Regions from separate parts of the Homo sapiens genome. Here region 1 is linked to region 2. Evidence: promoter capture Hi-C in 16 types of primary human blood cells and fetal thymus (Javierre and others, 2016). All regions are on one chromosome and are shown on one strand. Each heading gives the region's core, a stretch centred on a gene start or on the middle of the fragment in contact. The rest is flanking DNA. Distances are from core to core; before and after follow the strand shown. Region 1 holds the start of IL22RA1 (interleukin 22 receptor subunit alpha 1). Region 2 holds the start of MYOM3-AS1 (MYOM3 antisense RNA 1).

Evidence for each region. Contacts are between HindIII fragments. The CHiCAGO score rates a contact against its expected background, and 5 or more counts as called.
Region 1: a contact is called between the fragment with the promoter of IL22RA1 here and the fragment with the promoter of MYOM3-AS1 in region 2, in 1 of 17 cell types (endothelial precursors). The highest score is 5.5, in endothelial precursors.

Annotation. Positions count from the first base shown.
Region 1 is chr1:24,140,131-24,146,809 of GRCh38, forward strand. It overlaps IL22RA1 (interleukin 22 receptor subunit alpha 1), which reads right to left and starts at 3,010. Exons shown (of 7, transcript NM_021258.4): 1 at 2,910-3,010. The coding sequence starts at 2,952. The HindIII fragment of the contact is 5,016 bases long and covers 2,477-6,679 here.
Region 2 is chr1:24,065,133-24,072,055 of GRCh38, forward strand. MYOM3-AS1 (MYOM3 antisense RNA 1) reads left to right here and starts at 1,630. Exons shown (of 3, transcript XR_001737930.2): 1 at 1,630-1,710. It overlaps MYOM3 (myomesin 3), which reads right to left. Exons shown (of 37, transcript NM_152372.4): 24 at 6,837-6,881; 25 at 5,985-6,121; 26 at 3,091-3,235; 27 at 2,838-2,897; 28 at 1,889-1,956; 29 at 759-869. The HindIII fragment of the contact is 6,627 bases long and covers 1-2,884 here.

The DNA of each region.
Region 1 (6,679 bases), core at 1,760-4,259, 76 kb after region 2:
AGTCCCTCCCTTCATTAAATCCTCACGACAACGTGCCCACTATCACTATCCCCATTTGATGAATGAGCTGAGGCTCAGAGAGAGCTGCCGCCCAGCATCACAGTTAGCATGTGAAGAACCTACAATATTCATCCCAGTGCTAGACTGGTTGTGGGGCGGATAGAGCGGGTTGGCGTCTGTGAATGTGTTTAGTGTCTAACAGGCCCCTATGTACATGTGTTGAGTCTGAAGGGAGGAGACCTGGGAAGGGAAGACATTCGCTCTGTAGGGAGGGGGCTATCTTGTTCACCCTTTTATATGAGGGTGGGGGGCTTCAGGGACCTGAGCACCTGATAAAGGGATGAATTTAGGGAGGAGGAGAAGAGAGAGGAGAAGAGAAGCTGGCCATTGAAGAGTCCACAGCCCTCTCTTCCAGGCTAGGTCTTTGTCCAGCCCACTTCTGCTTCTGTTAAGGGAAGGGCAGTGAGGGCCTGAGCCTCAAGGAAGGGGCTGGGGAGGGGCTGCAGCCTCTAAAGCAATCTGCACTGTAAACAAAGAGTCCTTAACTTATAAAACCCTTCCCTCAGGCCCCCAGGCTTGGGCTGTGGAGAGCAAGAGCCTGCGGGAAAATGGCGGCCCAAGCTGGCAGCTGGCTCGGAGCTCGGAGGCCCTGGCCGGCTGGCGTGGGAAATAAACAGGTGGGAAAATGTTAAGCAACCCCAGCTGGGTCAAGGCCTTGCGGCCTGGGTGTGTGTCTTGAATATGTCTGTGCCTCTCCTTCCCCAGACACGTCTACGACTGCCAGTGGGCCCAAGGTGTGAGGGAGCAGACAGTTATTGATTCCCCTACTCCAACTCTACACACAAGAGGGGTCCTCAGGCTTGGCGAGGACCGATGGGGACGGAAGAATGGTCCGACCCCGCTGCACATCCTCTGGCCAACCTCGAAGGCTGCCCTCCTCTCTGAATTTGGGTTCTGGCCCAGCAGCTGCAAAATGTCTTCAGGCTTCCTGGAGTCCCCAGAATGGGGCCTTAGGGATGGCGCGGGGAGGGGTCTACTGCCTCTACGCAAGGTGACGGCTGTGCCGTGGAGCCTTAGGATGTAGCTGACATCTTGTTTGGATGTGAGGCTGGGTGGAATTGGGGTCAGTTCTGGAGGGAGGGGTCCTGGATTCAGGGCTGAGTCTAAAGTTGAGGAAAGGAGTCCAGTCAAGGTCAGACCTGAACAGTGGCTTCTGGTTGGGTGGTGGGTCAGGGCAGAAGGGTGAGGGTGGGCTTTGAGAAGCCAGGCTCCATCAAGGCTTGGGGTAGAGTCTGCAGCGGGAACGGTTGCTGGTTGAGGTCAGTGTTCTGGGTGGGAAATAGAGGGCCCATCTGGGTTGCAAGGAGGCTGGTGGCTGAGGTGGGGGCATGTTGCCAAGGCAAAGGACCCTGGGCTACGTGGAGGTTGGCACCACTTTTCAGGAGGGAACTGCAGTTAGCTTCCTGAAGTGGGGTAAGTGAACCTAGGCCCACTCCTGTCTTTTAGGGATGTCAGGGTCTAACAAGATCTCCCCCTCTTCTCCCACCCTCCTCGCTCCTTTTCCTCCTCAAATCTATCATCCATTCCTCAGCCTGTGTTGCTTCGGCACTTCCCGGGTGAAAGTCTATATTGTGAAATCTGGGGAGACATGTGTTGTGTGGAGCCTGGCAGCCTGGCGGATTTATAAAAGGCAACTTGTTTTTTCACATTCATGTGGAAAAACAATGTTCTGTCAACCAGCTGGGAAGCTAAGGAAAAATACACAAACAAGAAACAATTCCACATGCTCTGGAGTCAGCCTAAGATTGGGGGGGTGAGGGCCCGGTGTGTGCAGCGCGAGGCAGCTGACCCTTGACAATCTCCTAAGGGCTATTTCTTGGGGTCCCCCATCTCAAAGGGCTGGGAGCCTCTAGGATTTCTAACCAGTATGGCTGAGGGTCTAAAGGGACGTGTCTTGGTGCCTCAAGGGGGTGCCTCACATCTTCCTGGAACGCCCAGCTTGATGCTGGGAAGCAGACTGGAGGGGGTCCCACAGAGCTGGAAGCCCTGGAGACGCAGGCAGCCCTGGCGGGACAGTGGCAGAGAAGGTGGGAAGCTCTGCCTTTTCGTGGGCCTCGTCCTGCACTTGAGCAAGGAGGGCCTGGCCGAGGCCATACCTGCTCGCCATCCTCAATCAGGACTATGCTTTGACTTCCTAAGGAAGTTCCCTGAATTTCATGCAATGCACCAGGAGAGCAGAGAGAGAGTCTAGGGTCTCATGTAACGTTCTCCATAATGATGAGCCCCCCACTCCGCTCACTTTATTGGCTTTGAACACTATGCCCTTAAGACCTGTTTCCAAATGAGTCCTGTGTCTTAAGACCTATTAATGTAGCAGACCTGGCCACTCTAGGAGAAAATGCTCTTTCAGATCTATGATAACAAAAGGGGCCAAAGAGGCCCTGCAGGGGCATGGAGGGAGGCAATAGTGAACTCAAGCTTCGTTTCCCCCGGTCCTTCCTCCTCCTCCCCTGTCAGGCCAGTGCCAAGTGAGAGGCAGAGGAAGGATGGTACAAACTGTGCCGACACCGTTTGAGGGACCGAAGGATGTCTGCCTCCTCCAGGCCAATTCTCCATTCACTGAGGTGCAGCGATCCAGCACCCCCAGTTCAGACAGCTGGCTATATCCCTCAAGACCCGAGGGTCCTTTGGGTCCCTGGAAGAACCCAGGGTCTGAGGCACCCTCTCATGCCCCCAGCAAACTAAGCTGGGCATTTGCTTCTCCGTGAACACCCGGCACCCTGCTCAGCCCTAGCAGGGGAGAAACTGAAACTGGCTATGCTCGGGCTGGGGAGGGTGCTGGGGAGATGACCCTGATCGTTGGCCCCTGGGATAAGGGAGGTCTGACCACAGGGTAGATGGGCACTCACCAGCCAGGGATCCCACAGTCAAGATGGTCAGCAGCGTCCTCATCGGGGCTGGCACAGAGCCCTCCCTTGGCCTCTACTCTGCCGTGCACAGAGAGAGGGCTGGGAGTCTTGGCGCCCTGGCAGCTGGCTCCACCCGGGCATGGGGCGGGGAGAAGGGGGTGGGTGGGACCTGTGCCGGTGGGGAGCAGGGGTACAAAGGTGTCCTGGCCCTGTGTGCTCTGGAATTCCAGGTTCTGGGCGGGATCTAAGGGAGTTCCCTTCCGACTTGCAGAAAACAGCAATAGTAACAGGCTGGCTTGTTTATCTGGTCCGGTGGCTGATTCATCCCAAGTGGTTTATCAAGGAGCTGAGGGGCAGAAAAGGCAAGAATAATCCACGATATGCAGCCTTATCAAAAAGCAATTTGGCACTGTGGATCAAAAGCCTACACCACATACATATCTTTTGCTTTAATAATTCTATTCCTAGGGGATTTACCCTGATGAAAATAACTGGACAACAGAGGGGGAAAAAAAAGGTCCCAGAATGTTTCTTGCAGCAAAGGAAAAGCTGTGACTCCTTTGCTTTTCTGGCAGGAGGAGATTGAGGGCACCCGATGCTCCTCCTTGATCCTCCATATCAAGGCAGGTCCCCACGCTTGGGGTGGGCTTGGGAACAGCTCTCCCCTAGAGAGGCCGTTGGGGGTGAGGAAGCCCAGCCGCTCTTACCTTGAGCCTTTGGGTCTAGGATCTGCAAAAGTTTAGAAAAAAAATGGAACTCAAACTTCAGTGATTCTTTCTGCTGTGCTAGAGATGGGGCTGAACTTCATGAATGGGGCTTTGGTTCGGGACGATGAAGATTCAGGCTGCTCTCCCATCATTTTGCCACGTAGGGCAGGATCTGCACATGAGCTTCGTGTGAATGAAGGGACAGGTGTTTAGGAAATGGTTTTCTCCTTCCTGCAGGGCCTGGAGAAGGTAGAAGGGCCCTGGGGCCTGGACTCTGGTCAGGGTGGACACGATTGGAGGGTCCTGCCCCTGGGGAGAGTTTGCCTGGCCCCAAGCACACAAAGGCAAGCGAAATTTTAGCAGGGATCCTGCCAACGGGTTGGGTGTAATGGGCTGTGATATGCTGAGATCGGTGTTTAAGTTTTTCTTTCCTGAATTGTAATTGTTATCAGCCCTGATTGCTAAAGTTTGTTTGACAAAACAGCCAAATCTAAGCTGTGCTTTGGAGGAATTAAGGTAGGGCCCATGCCAGTCATTTCCTGAAACTGCAGGAAACTACATTTTCTAGACTCCTTTATCAACTGCTTTCTGATAGGTTTAGCCCCTGGGGGAAGACTGGGGAGGCAGAGATCAGAGCATTTCTCCCCTCGTTTTCTGTTTGAGTGGCTTCCCCAGCAATGGCCATATCCCTCTGCAGTTCTGGCTCCCTCTGGACAGTCCATCAGCCAGGCAACCCCTTATGTCTTTCTTGTTCCTGTTTGGAGGCCAGCTCCTGGCTCTGGCAACACCTTCTCCCCTCATCTTTCCTTTCAGTTGGTGGGATGGCACAGCTTCCTGCTTTGGGGAAATCTCTGAACTGTCTGTCCTGATTAGTGTCCCAGCTCCTTCATCCTCTGGGTGACGAGCTCCTTTACATTAAAGTCCCTTGGTCTGAAAGACTGGAGAGGTTTCTGTGCTACTGAATGAACCATGATGGATAGAGGGTTTTTGATGACTTTGATGACAAGGCAGTGTGGGGAAGCTACAGCGAGAAAAACAGGTTACAAGGGACGCTTAGGGAGAAGAGCAGGCTTTGGTCCCAAGTGGCTGGCCGAGAGGACAAGACGCAGCCCCAACAGGTCTGTGGAACACGAAAGTGTTCCTTGGGGCCTCTCAGAAGCACTGGAAGAAGGAACTTGATGGAGGAAAAGGGCATCCTGTAGTTTCGAGGGCCTGTGGTTATGTAGGAATTAACGGGAAGGAAGACACCTGGATTGCTAAGGAATGTGGGAACACCCAGACTTCATTTCTAACAGTTTAAGAAAAAAATAGGTGGGGCGTGGTGGCTCATGCCTGTAATCTCGCACTTTGGGAGGCCAAGGTGGGCAGATCACCTGAGATCAGGAGTTCGAGACCAGCCTGGGCAGCATGGCGAAACCCTGTCTCTACTAAAAATACAAAAATTAGCCGGACATGGTGGCGGGCACCTGTAATCCCAGCTGCTCGGGAGGCTGAAGCAGGAGAATTGCTTGAGCCCAGGATGTGGAAGTTGCAGTGAACCGAGACCGCACCATTGCACTCCTGCCTGGGCGACAGAGCGAGACTCCGTCTCAAAAAAAAAAAAAAAAAAAAAAAAAAGGAGAAAAAAATGAAAACAACCTCCATGTCTGACAATAGAGGTTTGGTTAAAAGAATAATGGTATGTCCACCCAAAGCAAGACAAATGCAGCTTCCAAAATAATGCTGGAGAAAAATGTTTCGTGACCTGGTAAAGACTCATCATATTTTTTCAAGTGAAAAGAGGCATAACATAACCTATGTACAGTACCACCCTGGCTAAAACGCACACCTGCACACGCAGAGCAAACTGCGTGTCTTCATGGATATAGATGAAAACACTAGGGGCGTTATCTCTGGGTGGTAGTGGAATTGTAGGTGATTTTTCTTTTCTTCCCTTTGCTTATCTGCATTTCCTAAAGTTAATATAGGAAATACACTAATTTATATTAAGGGAAAGCAAGGTTACTAAACATAACAAATCGGCATTAAAGACAAGCCTTTGTTGGGGCTCTATCCTCCTCCTGGAATGCCATTTCCACTCCCTTAGCCAATTCCCTTTTCCTCGAATCTCACCAAGACAGTTTTCTTCTGCGATATGGCCCTTCTTGATAACTCCAGCCCATAACATCTCACTTTGAAAGTCCTTCCAGAGGCCAGGCACCGTGGCTCATGCCTGTAATCCCGGCATTTTGGAAGGCCAAGGAGGGAGTATCGCTTGAGTCCAGGAGTTTAAAGCCAGCCTGGGCAACATAGTGAGACACTGTCTCTATAAATAATAAAAAATTAGCCAGGTGTGGTGGCACATGCCTGTAGTCCCAGCTACTTGGGAGCCTGAGGCAGGGAATTGCTTGAGCCCAGGAGATCAAGGCTGCGGTGAGCCATGACTGCACCACAGCACTCAGCCTGGGCAACAGAGTGACACCTTGTCTCAAAAAACAAACGAACTTAAAAACAAAGTCCTTCCAGAATATGTGGTCTGGCCTGCATTTTGGCATTGTCCACTATGATACTTCAGCTGTGTTACATGTTCAAGAATGGAAAGGAGGCCAGGCGCCATGGCTCATGCCTGTAATTCCAGTACTTTGGGAGGCTGAGATGGGCTGATCACTTGAGGCCAAGAGTTCGAGACCAGCCTGGCCAACATGGTGAAACCTTGTCTCTACTAAAAATACAAAAATTAGCCAGGCATGATGATGCACACCTGTAGTCCCATCTTCTCGGGAGGCTGAGGCAGGAGAATCAGGAAGAATGAGGGAGAATCAGGAAGAATGAGGAAGAATCTGGAAGAATGAGGCAGGAGAAGCAGGGAGTCTAGGGTCCCTAGACTCCCGGCGGAGGTTGCAGTGAGCCAAGATCGTGCCACTGCACTCCAGCCTGGGCGACAGAATGAGTGAGACTCCATCTCAAAAACAAACAGGCCAGGCTCGGTGGCTCATGCCTGTAATCCTAGAACTTTGGGAGGCCGAGGTGGGCGCATTGCCTGAGGTCAGGAGTTCGAGACCAGCCTGGGCCACATGGCAAAAC
Region 2 (6,923 bases), core at 380-2,879:
ACCTACTGGTGCCACAGCCTGTCTGAGGAGCTTGCACAGTGGTGGCAAAGGCTGACTTGGCATCAGCCTGGCCAGGATTTGGGAGAAGACCTTGAAATCATTGTTTTCTTCCTAGTCAGCAAGGCTCTGTTTGCTCCAGTCCTCCTGGGCACCCAGTGAGGCCACAGACATCAGCAGCAGGGCAGAAAAAGGTTGACGTTTGAGAGCAAGCCTTGTGTTTCTCTCTTAACCAGGCCACGGTCCACCAAAGGCCATGGGGGAGGACTTGGGGGGAGAATTGAGCTCCAGGCCTGCTTTATTCTGCCCAGATCTGCCTCACATGGAGACATCCTTCCTGTCCCGACTCCTAGACTGTTGGGGCAGGAAGGAGGCGTTGAAAGAGCATCCCTTCCAACCCGCTCATGTTGCAGATGAAAGCTGAGGTCAGAGAGCGACGGGGGCTAGCCCAAGCCTGCACAGTCATTGGCAGGGCCAGTACTGGAGCTAAAGAAAAAAATCAGTAATACTGATTCTGTCTCTATTGAAAATTTGGGGGCTTTAATAGTTTTTTTGCATTAATTTTGATTTTTTAGAATATTGCATACAATATTATTTATCTTGATTACTGAGTTTTTTGGTGCCTCTTAAATTTTGTGCTCAGGGCCTCACTTGCATCAACCTAGCCTCGGCCCTGCCCTGACTCCCAGCCCAGAGCTCTTGGCCCTCCCTGGCTTGCAGCCAAAGGAGAAAGTGAGCCCTGAAGCTGGAGCCACACTTGCCTCTTCAATGCAGAGAAGTCCCGTTCCCGTCTCTGGGTCATACTGACCATCTGGCATCTCTGCCCTCTGGAAGAACCACTGAAAGCGAGTCTCCTTCTTGGTGTTGGTCACCTGGGGAAGGTGGGGAATGAGGAGACTCTGTCAGGCTTGTTTCTTTTTGAGTAAAAACACACCTGTGCACACTTTCAGGCATCTCAGTGGAGTCCTTTCACATACCATGTGTCTCCTCTGCTGGCCTCTGGACTCTGAATTCTTGCTAATGGTTTTCCCTCTGCCTCTTGATCCCTGCCTTACTCTATTTTTCTTGGAAATGTCCATGTGCTTCAGTTAAATGTCATCTCCTCCAGGAAGCCTTTTTTTTGAAGCATCCCATAGTCACCCCCTCCATCACGATTCATCAATGTCCTGCCCCATCCGGGTCAAGCATGAGGGATGCTGTTTTCCAATGGTCCTGCCTTGAACATGGGCTCCCAAGGCCCACAGAGACCACTTCATCATCTTTGTACGTTCAGTACCGTGCAGAGTGGCACAAAATAGATGCTCTGAGTTTACTGAATGAATATGCTTCTGGGAGAGCACCCACCCTCCCCTTCCCCAGTTATCTAAACAGGCTGAAGAGTGCTAAGAAGGACCTTAGGCTTTGGAATCAGATAGACTTGTTCAAACCTGGGCTCTCCCTCTTACCGTGTGGCCTTGAGCTATTTCTCCATTTGTTTTCTCATCTATGAAGTGAGGATAGTAATGCCTGTGTCACAGATGATTGTGAGGCGGATGAAATAATACTGTGAGTCTCTGAGCACAGGGTAATCATAAACACAGGGATACCCCTCAACATATAAACCCTCGTGGGCTCCTAGACCCCCTGACCCCTCAGAACCCCTTCTGGAGCCACTAGGATCTCGTTCAAGGCTGGTCCACCTCACACGAATCCTACCCCATGGGCGCTGGGAAGGTGGGTTTGCTTTTTGGGTTACGTGTGGTCTCCTCGGGGGTACTTTCTGTGTGTGCGATCAGCCAAGCACAGAGTATGGAATTTAGGGGGCCGGGTGGGCAGGGACAGCAACTGGGCTTGGGGACAAGCCACAGGTCCCCCTGCACTGGGCCTGGGGGCAGGGCAGGGCAGGACTTGCCTTGCACGTCAGCTGCACTTGGCAGTCCTCCGTGACCTTCCACTGCAACGGCCGCTCAAAATAGGGACCTGTGCGTGCAAAACAAATGTGCCCACTGTCAGAGAGCCAGGCTCAGCCAGGGTGCCACCTGTGTCCAGGCAGTGCTGGGGGGAGGGACAGCTAATGGCTATGGACTTCTCAGATGCTGCCTCTGCCAGGGCTGGGACTGGGGTGAGGCAGGGGCGGTGCTCAGAGCGCAAATTTCTTTCTTTCTTTCTTCCTTCCTTTCTTTCTTTCTTTCTTTCCTTCTTTCTTTCTTTCTTTCCTTCTTTCTTTCTTTCTTTCTTTCTTTCTTTCTTTCTTTCTTTCTTTCCTTCTTTCTTTCTTTTTCCTTCCTTCCTTCCTTCCTTCCTTCCTTCCTTCCTTCCTTCCTTCCTTCCTTCCTTTGTTTCCTTCCTTCTTTCTTTCTTTCTTTATTTTTGAGACAGAGTCTCGCTCTGTTGCCTAGGCTAGAGTGCAGTGGCGCAATCTCGGCTCACTGCAAGCTCCGCCTCCTGGTTTCAAGGATTCTTGTGGCTCAGCCTCCTGAGTAGCTGGAATTACAGGCGTGTGCCACCATGCTCGGCTAATTTTTGTATTTTTCATAGAGATAGGGTTTCACCATGTTGGCCAGGCTGGTCTTGAACTCCTGGCCTCAAGTGATCTGACCACCTTGGCCTCCCAAAGTGCTAGGATTACAGGTGTGGGGCACTGTGCCTGGCTTCAGGGTGCAAAATTTAAGAGGGCTCAGCTCTCACCCTCAGGTCAGGCAAGAGCTATTTTGATCTGGCACTGGGACAGAACTGGACTGAATGACAGTGGACCTCCCTTGGGGACCCAGCAGGGCTGGGGTTCCCATTAATCCGCAGTCCAGCATCTCTAGCACGAACCAGTGGCCAGGGATTTTGAACTTCACCCCAGCAGCTCTTACCCTGTTTTCTCTTCCAGTCCCTTCTCTTAGCATCTGCCTTCCTCAGAAGCTTGTCAAAATCTGTGAACACAGAGGGAGGAACTGGCATGAGCCGAGAGGAGTGTGGGTCTGGAGAGGGGACATGGGGTGGACAGAAGTCGAGGGGGCTGTGCTCAGCAGGCTGCAGAGCCGAGGACTCAGGGCTGCAGGGCAGGCCAGGTGTGCGGGGCAGGGCGGGGCAGGGCTGGGCGGGGCGAGGCTGGGCATGGCTGACCGTCATCCACCAGTGTCAAGGTAATCTGGTTTTTGGCTTTTCCATCTTGGAGTTGAGCGGTGTACGACCCTTTGTCCTCCTCAGACAAGTTCTGGATGATCACTTCCACCAGGCCCTTCTCTCGGTCAAAATTGATTTTGCGGTTCTGAAAAGGACAAACTCCAGAGTCCTTTTCCCTGTTCTGGGAACTTTGTTGTGGGGTACACATCAGAGTGTAGTGGGCTTGGGGGTGGTAAGCACAGAGCTGTCAGCCTTCAGAGACTGGGGCTGGCCGTTGGGTAACCCTCTGCTGCTCCCCCCACACCTAGTCCCCCGGGGTGCTTGAATAAGTTACAATTTTTTGTTGTTGTTTTTTTGAGACAGAGTCTCACTCTTGCCTAGGCTGGGGTGCAGTGGAGCGATCAGTTACAATTTAATAATAAGTCCCGAACCCCTGCTGTGCCATGATTTTGCCTATTTTCTTTTCTTTTTCTTTCTTTTTTTGTTTTTTGTTTTTTTCTTGAGACAGTGTCTCACTCCATCGCAGAGTCTCGCTCCATCACCCAGGCTGGAGTGCAGTGGCGCAATCTCGGCTCACTGCAGCTTCTGCCTCCCATGTTCAAGCAATTCTCCTGCCTCAGTCTCCTGAGTAGCTGGGATTACAAGCATGCGCCACCACACCCAGCTTATTTTTGTATTTTTAGTAGAGACTGGGTTTCACCATGTTGGCCAGGCTGGTCTCGAACTCCTGGCCTCAAGTGATCTGCCTGCCTCGGCCTCCCAAAGTGCTGGGATTACAGTCGTGAGCCATTGTGCCCAGCAGCTTATTTCCTACTTCTTTTAAAATAGGAAAAACCCCATTGGCGTGTGTAAAGGATAATGGAAAAAAAAATACTCGTGTACTTGCTACCCAGAATTAACACTCATTTACATTTTACCATATTCTAACAGTTTTTAAAATTTCATTTTCCTCATCTAGGTTCTTTCTTCCTCTGGCTTTATTTGTATGTATGATTTGGGGGAGTAATCTAATTTTGTTTTATTTTTCTATAGGGACAACTGATTGTCCCACCACTGAATACTAATGAGTCCAGACTTTGTAACACTTCCTTTACCATGTGGTAAGGTCATTGCACAAGCTTTATGCAGAACTTTCAAATCAGTTTTCTGATTTGCATCTTTTGATGCTGGGACAACCAGCCCCATTGCACAGATGGAGAAACACAGGCACAGACAGGTGAAGAGACCTGCCAAGGTCATATAACCCACAGCAGGTGGACATGAGACTCCTGTCAGAACTAGTGCCCTCTTTCTATAATACATGTTTTCTTTCTTCTTTTTTTTGTCATTGGACCTTTGATATATATATAACACATATTTTCTTCCTTTTTTCTTTTCTTTCTTTCTTTCTTTCTTTTTTTTTTTTGAGACAGAGTCTCACTTTATTGCCCAGGCTGGAGTACAGTGGCACGATTTTGGCTCACTGCAACCTCTGTCTCCCGGGTTCAAGCGATTCTCGTGCCTCAGCCTCCTGAGTAGCTGAGAGTACAGGTGCGCACCACCATGCCTGGCTAAGTTTTTGTATTTTTAGTAGAGATGGGGTTTCATCATGTTGGCCAGGCTGGTCTTGAACTCCTGACCTCAGGTGATTCGCCTGCCTCGGCCTCCCAATGTGCTGGGATTTCAGGCATGGGCACCCCGCCCAGCCACAACACGTATTTTCTAATGGCTGCTTTGCCATCTGGAGATGAAATTCACAAATAATATGAGATTGAGTCATGAATTTGAATCTCTCATGAGGTTGACATCGCCATGTCAGCAGTAAACAGTTGAATATTGACAAATCATGTGGTTCAATCTAATACAACCTATCTACAGATATGATTTACAAAATAATATACTCTAACCATAATATAAAGAAGAAATAAGTCGTTTAAAATAAAAATATTTCAATATATAGGTGCTTGGATATAACCTTAATTATGCTGCCCTGCTTTATAATGAATCGGTTTGACTTTAAGAGAAGAAAAGCAAAAAAATCAGAAGCTATTCTGTACAAAAGCAGGAAAATGAATGAGCATAGGTAAAGTAACCAGCAGAATAAAAATTCTCCATTCAGTGTATAGTAACATTGCACACTTTGGGAGGCTGAGGCAGGAGGATTGCCTGAGTTCAGGAGTTTGCAGCCTGGGCAACAAGGCAAAACCCTGTCTCTACAAAAAAAAAAAATATAAAAATTAGCTGGGCGTGGTGGTGTGTGACTGTGGTCCCAACTACTCGGGAGGCTGAGGTGGGAGGATCGCTTGAGTCTGGGAGGTTGAGGCTGCAATGAGCTGAGATCATGCCACTGCACTTTAGCCATGGTGACAAAGTGAGGTTCTGTCTCAAAAACAAACAAAAACAGAAAACAAAAAATAAAATTGTTTGGGAGACTGAGGCAGAAGGAGTACTTAAGGCCAGGAGTTCAAGACCAACCTGGTCAACATAGTGAGTCCCCATCTCTAATTAAAAAGATAAAAAAAGAAAAAAATTGTACAAAAATAGTTTGTATTTATACCTAAAACAGAGTTAGAGTCTAGCCTTGGATAATTATAGGCATGAACGCAGGTTTTTCATCTTAAGAATGTCTGGTGGGGTAATCAGAAGTTGTGGGGGGTGTGGGAATTCTTTGTTTGTGGGAATGTCCCTTGCACTGGCCAGCATGTAGTGTCCCTGCCAACCCCACCCCCAACACCAGCACTGGTACTAAGAGCCAAATGTTCCCATCCCGTCCTCATCACTGCAACAGCAAAAGCACACCGTCATTTCTGAAATGGCCACTAGGGGGAAGTACCAGCCCATGCGGAATCACCATCCCGCGAGGCCACCTCCCCGGCAGGGGAGCCTCACTTCAGGGATTGTGAGCACCCAATTACCGGCGAGCTGAAGATCTCCTTGTTGTTGAAGATTAGATGTAGCTCAGCGGCTGGAGATAACTTTTCTACTTCCAGCCAAAGCCGCACCTCCCCTCGCTCCAGGATGTCAATGTTCCAGCCGGAGATCAGTTTGATCACTGGGAGGCGCAGGACGGGAAGGGGGTGGGTTGGACCCCTTCTCCCTTTCCCGCTCCCTTCCAGCCCCACCTTGAGCACACCCTTGGCATCTGACATGCAAAACCTTTAGAGAACCTGAAGGAGACTGTACTGGGTGGGGCTCAGAGGAGGGTTTTCCGAATGCCCACTCTAGATTTAATTAATCTCAGCGAAGCGTTTCCTCTTCTAAGAGCTCTGGGGCTGCAGTTCTCAACCTGGCAGGGCATTGGATCCCAGACGACTTTCAAAAACCCTAGCATCTGGGCTCCACCCTCAGAGATTCTGATTTGTCTGGGGCATGGCCTAGGTATTGGGATTAGGAAAGGTGTCATCATGGTTCTGTTGTGTAGCCAAGTTTGTGACCTCCCCTGCTCTAGGGACTGTACACACTGTCCCTAGCCAATGGAGAGAAGCAGAGGTTTAGACGATCCCAAATCCTAATGACTAAAGAGCCAATAACAGTAATTATAAAAGAGGAAAACACCCACATTTCCCTTCCTCGCATCCCCTTTCCTGCTGCTCTTTTCCTTCCGTGAGCTTCCCGAGTGGTCCCTGACCTTCTAGCTCTGTGATTCTCCCACCCTCTGTCCCTCTGGGGTTGTTTCCTGGTCCTTGGCCTGACTCTGCTCTGCTCAGAACATGCCAATGGGCCCAGTGGGAACTGCACAAGGCTGGTAGCTTGGACTGCTTGCTTACCTGGGTTTCTGATCTCATGACTCAGCTTCTTCAGCTTCTCCAGCTCTGGGATAGGGGGAAGTGAGGAAGAAACCAGAGAGAATGAAA